Regions from separate parts of the Homo sapiens genome. Here region 1 is linked to region 2. Evidence: promoter capture Hi-C in human tissues and cell types (Jung and others, 2019). All regions are on one chromosome and are shown on one strand. The core of a region is centred on a gene start or on the middle of the fragment in contact, and the rest is flanking DNA. Distances in the headings are between cores, read along the strand shown. Region 1 has its middle 42 kb from the start of DMRTB1. Region 2 holds the start of LRP8 (LDL receptor related protein 8).

Region 1 (2,700 bases), core at 148-2,647, 90 kb after region 2:
TGAAATTCTAAATTAAACACCACTAAACATGATTACGGCTTCAAAAAGTAGTTACATGCTTCAATAACCACACTTTTATCACAAGAACACACAATCTAAAGCCAAAATAGTTGAGTATAACGTGCCAAAAATATGCTCACCCCATACATTGTTAGAAAGAGCAGTAGGAAAAGAAATCTAAAATTTGCTGCTATTTCATTTGACGGCAGCCAACATCTCCTGTCTTCCTTGGCAAGAAGGCCATTTTTCTATGCTGTATTTTGCACACACAGAAATCTGCATAGAGTGATTTGCATACCAAAAACACATTTGTAAAAGAAACTGTTTGCATAGAAGCCAGGGGGAGATAGGGTTGCCACTGTTGACTTCTATACACACAACACTCCCAGGCTACTTACTTTTCACTTTCCTGTGTGCTGAATTTCCAAAAATGGGTTATGGATTTTTTTGATGCATTAAAACTTAAAGCAACTATATCCTGTAGATATCCAAGAACAACCACAACAATAACACATGCTAAATGTTTCGTGCTAACAGACTGTCAACTTTTTACTAAGAGGCTGGTAATAATAAGTGCTATAATATATTGAGCATTTATGATATCCCATGTGTTTTACATAAATTATTGCTTATTCTCACAATTAGTCTTCAAGGTTGGTGTTGTGGTTCCCCATTTACATAGGAGGAAACTGAGGCATGTCAGGGTAAGGTACCTTGTCAAAGCCTTGTAAGCCAGGGCAGTGAAACCAGGTTTGGAAGCCTGACTGACCGCTCAGCCCTTTCCTGCCACCCCTGCCACCCCCACCCCGAGCTGCCTCTCTCTTTTCCCAGTTTTGCTTTCACACCATTGGTTTTTTTTCCACCAGCCTGGTAGGAGGTGGGAGGAAGTCATGCTGAGAGAGGAAGTCATGTTGCACTTTGCTTTCCTGGCATTTTCTCTGACCAGAGCCTAGAAGCAGGACGGCCACAGTCTCAAGGCTCAGTGAAGGTGCCCCATAAAAGAGCTCCGTGACAGACATGGGGTGAATGGGCAATGGCCTGTGATTCAGAGGGTGTCAAGGAGAGAGACGGATTGGTCTCGGCACAAAGACGGTACATGGTAGTTGAGATGCAATGGACCCCTCCCACCCGGTGCCTGCACGCTATCACCGATTCAGTGCCAGCCCAATTGTATTCTTGGAAACACAGAATGGTTTGTGTGTGCTTAATTATAATGCTACTTACAGAGAATTTATCAGCGGCAAATCAGAGGCTTGATGCTTTGCTTAAGAAAAAAAATTGGTAGTGGCTCTTTGAAATGTGTTCATCTGATGAGTCCTTTGGATTTTTCCAGTATACAGCATTTGAAAGAAATTGGCCATTTCTGGAAAGTCAAGTGCGGGGAGCGGGGGCAGAAAGGGCAGAATTAAAAGACTGCAGATGCCTGCCAAAAAAGATTATAAACATTTACTTTCTTTTAAGATACTTCTTTGTCTTTGTGTTTTTTCTCACCTAGTTTCCTGTTATTCATGAATCCATCATTGTCCAAAGACTCCTAGCTTTGAGACCTAATTATGTATTAATCACTGTTAAAAAGCAGTTTTTCTGACACTTTCAGTAATAAATTCCTTTTGATGTGATTAATAGTAACTCTGCCTTATAGCAAGTTCCAGGCTAAAGCAAGTAATGTGACAGCAAACTGCTTTGGAGGCAGACGGATCTGTTTTAAATCTTGGTTTTGTCCTTCCAGTTTGACCTTACTAATCTCTCTAAGCCTCAGTTTCCTCACCTGTAAAATAGGGAAAATAATGCAAGACAGACCCTGGTTGCCTACCTAATAGCCATTTCCATCTCCTTCAATGAGTGACAACAGATCTTAGTTTTGTTCAGCACCTATGGGAAGGCTTGTCATCAAATTCCACGCAATGAGACTGAAGGGGAAATATGCTAGAAGCTTCTGAGAAAGATTTTCCTCTCTGATAAGAGAGATACATGAAGAGAAAGCCCATTTGGGCCGGGTGCAGTGGTTCATGCCTGAAATCCCAGCACTTTGGGAGACCTAGGCGGATGGATCACTTGAGGTTAGGAGTTCGAGACCACCCTGGCCAGCATGGTGAAACCCCATCTCTACTAAAAATACAAAAATTAGCTGGGTGTAGTGGTGCACACCTGCAATCACAGGTGGTGCGCACCTGTGGTGGGAGGCTGAGGCAGGAGAATGGCTTGGACCTCAGAAGGGAGGTTGCAGTGAGCCAAGATCACACCACTGCACTCCAGCCTGGGCAACAGAGCGAGACTCCATCTAAAAAAAAAAAAGAAAGAAAGAAAGAAAAAAAGAAAGCCCGTTTGCCTTTGCCCCCTTGCTTCCCACTCTGGATGCCGCCGTTGAGACATGATGTCTGGTGCTGCGGCAGTTGTCTTATGAACACGAGAAGAAACATCACGGACACACTAAAGACAGCAGAGCCAAAGGCCTGAAAGAGCCCGGGTCCCTGGGGACAACGCTGATCTATTGAACCAAACTTGGTCTATCCATCTCCAGGTTTCTTGTTAAGAATGAATGTCTTTATGGTTTAACCTGTTGAGTATTGGGTTTTCTGTTGCTTACAGCCACACACACACACACACACACACCCCCTAACTTATACAAATACCAACTTCATAAGATGGTTGTAATAAACCATACATTGTATATAAAGTACTTAGCACAATATCTGGCAC
Region 2 (2,700 bases), core at 1-2,500:
CCCCACCGTTCCTTTTCTCTCCCCGGGTCTGAGCTCCCTGGCCCGCCACTCACGGCAGTCGTCCTCGTCGCTGTGGTCTAAGCAGTCATCGTCCTCGTCGCATCTCCACACAGAGGGGATGCAGCGCTCGTTCCGGCACTGGAATTGGTCCTTTTCGCAATCCTTGGCCGGCCCTGCGAGGGGGAGGGAGCGTGAGCTGGATCAGCGGACTCGGCCCCACTCCCCACCATGCAGTCCGGGCCACCCGGAAGGACCCGCTGGGGAGGAGGAAAGGGGGCGATTATGGAGACCCCGGGGGCTTCAGGCACACTCCATCCAAAGGGAGGGCACGATGGCAGGGGTTCCGTGGATGTCGGGCCGCTCGGTGGCACGGCGAGACCAGGCACCTACTTAAAGTGTCACACGACCTGGGTATACCCTCCATTCAGACGCACTCACCCGCACACGCGACCCATAGTCAGAGATCTGCTCAGATACAGCCCATAGGGAGTCCCCGCGCCCGCGCGCCAGGCGCAGTGGGAGCCGCAGGCACATCACCCTGGCAGGCAGCCCCCTCTCTCTCCGCCGCGCGCAGGGGTCTGCGGAAACGCATTGTCAAGCGGAGAAGCCGCCCGGCTCTGCTCATTACCGCCGCGGAGCGCGCGTGTCAAATAAACCCCAACGGCGAGAATCACACAGCTCATCCGGAACCATGAATGGCCGCCCCTCCGGCAAAGTTCCCCGCTGGCCAAGCCCCCCTGCACCCCTCCCCCAAGATCCGCTGCCCAGAGGGCAGAGCCCTCAACACCGAGGCCCGCGGGGGCGGGGGGCCGAGGGCAAATTCAGGAATAGCCGCTTCGCGTGGAGCCTGTCCGCCCGGGAGCCCCCGATAGCCCCGGGTTCTGGACCCCTCCCCGCTCCGGCCTCCCGGCCGCGCTTTGTTGGTGGCTAGGGCGGAGCAGAGCCGAGTCAGAGACCGGCTGCACGCACCTTGGCCGCCGAGCAGCGGATCAGCCGCTGCCGCCGCAAGATGCTGGAGCTGCAGCAGCAGCAGCAGCAGCAGCAGCAGCAGCAGCGCCAGAAGCCGGAGAGGGCCCGGCTCGGGGAGGCCCATGGCGGGCCCGGGGCTCCGGCCGCCGCGCCCCGCGCTCCCCGCGCCGCCGCCGCCGCGTCTCAGCCCTCCGAGTCCTTGCCGCGGCGCCGGGGTTGCCGCTGCCCCCGCCGCCGCCGCCGCCGCCGCTGCCGCCCGCCCCGGCTCCTCGGCTGCATTTCAAGCAGGTTCGGTGACGCTCGGCGGCGGGGCGGGCTCAGGCTGGGCGCGCGGCCCCGGCCCTGGGCGGCCGCCGCCAGCGCGCGCGCTCCCTCCCGCTGCCGCCTCCGCCCCACGCTCCCCCTGCCGCCGCCTCCTCGCCCTCCTCCCTCCTGTCTTTCGTCCACTCTTCTCTCAGCGGGCGCTCCACGGCCCTGCTCTGGGCTCGCCTGAGTGCTGGGCTCTGCAGACGCAGGGATGGGCCAGGCGAGCCCCTCACCACGGAGGTAGCAGGTCCAGAGGAAGCAGCAGAGGCTTCCTGGAGGAGGTGACAGGCGGATCAGAGGCTGAGGGATGTCTAGGAGTGAGCCTGGGCGGGAGGGGAAATGATGTTACAGGACGAACAGGCCTGTGCAGTGTGCGCGTGGGGCGGGGGAGGGAGGGATAGGGGTGAGATCCCAAGATGTGGATGAGCAGGGAGAAGCTGGGGGCGCAGGGCTGGACCCCTGCACCTGTCATGGGCTCCGGCTGGGATATTATAAATCCCTGTGGCTGGTTTGGTTTCCGTGCCATGTGCATCTGTGCATGTTGCACGCTCATGTGATCATGGGGACGTGAGGCAGGTGGATTGGGCCTGGTGCACAGACTATTCATCGTCGTTAAGTACGCTCCAGGCCCCTAGTCAGAGGGGCAACCAGGGGGGGCCCGCAGGGAAGACAAGGAATCCTCGCTGTGATGGAGAAAGACGAGGTCTGTGGGGCGGGCCGGGCGGGGGGGAAGGGGAGGGCACGGAAGGGATGCCATCCCTGCCGCTAGGGGCCGCGCACCTAGGCCCGCGCTGTCCGCCCCTGCTGTCTTCTGCAGGAAGGAGAAGGCACCTCTTCCTCTGGAGGGCTGCAGCCCGCCTCACCCACACTGGGGAGAATGGGTGCGGAGAGCGAGCTGGGATTCGATTTCAGCCTCAGACTTGTGAGCCGGGTCCAACCCACACAACCTTCTTTAGAGAATGAGATTCCAGGGCATTGGCCACTCAAAACAACCGGCCTGCAGGTGCCAAGAGCCAGTGTTAGGTCCACCCTCCCTCCCCTCTTGCCCCTTCACCTCCCTCGCGGATGGGCAGGTGCTGTTAGCCCTTGGCCTGGAAACCACCCTGTCTCCTCAGCAGCCTCCTGAGCCGTAGTCCCCCAAAGGGCAGCCCAGCGGCAATATCTGTGGCCACCCCACCAGAAAGGGACTTAGATCCCCAGAGAGCCCGGCACGGTGCTCCTGCCATCATCACCCCTCCTGTCCCTTGTTCATTCAGTCATTCAGCAAGCATTTCAGGCCCTGTTCTGTGCCAACCCTGTGCTGGGCCTGCGGGTACCAAGGTGAATCAGGCATGGTGCCAGCCCCGGAGAGGTCCCTGACCTGTGGGGAGACAGACCATTAGCACACAGACAACGAAATGCAGGCGTCCTTTCACCTATATGTGC

Evidence for each region. Contacts are between HindIII fragments. The study calls those that stand out against the background at their distance.
Region 1: a fragment that was not itself captured here is called in contact with the fragment with the promoter of LRP8 in region 2 in 2 of the 25 tissues and cell types used here (mesendoderm cells and thymus).

What each region holds. Positions count from the first base shown.
Region 1 is chr1:53,416,304-53,419,003 of GRCh38, forward strand. No RefSeq gene overlaps it. Among named protein-coding and RNA genes, the nearest start is that of DMRTB1, 42 kb to the right of the region's middle. The HindIII fragment of the contact is 3,198 bases long and covers 1-2,700 here.
Region 2 is chr1:53,326,820-53,329,519 of GRCh38, forward strand. LRP8 (LDL receptor related protein 8) reads right to left here and starts at 1,251. Exons shown (of 19, transcript NM_004631.5): 1 at 970-1,251; 2 at 54-173. The coding sequence starts at 1,093. LRP8-DT (LRP8 divergent transcript) reads left to right here and starts at 1,414. Exons shown (of 3, transcript NR_131923.1): 1 at 1,414-1,556. RefSeq lists silencers at 1-232, 748-917, 968-1,117, 1,188-1,387 and enhancers at 298-407, 1,458-1,687. The HindIII fragment of the contact is 17,458 bases long and covers 1-2,700 here.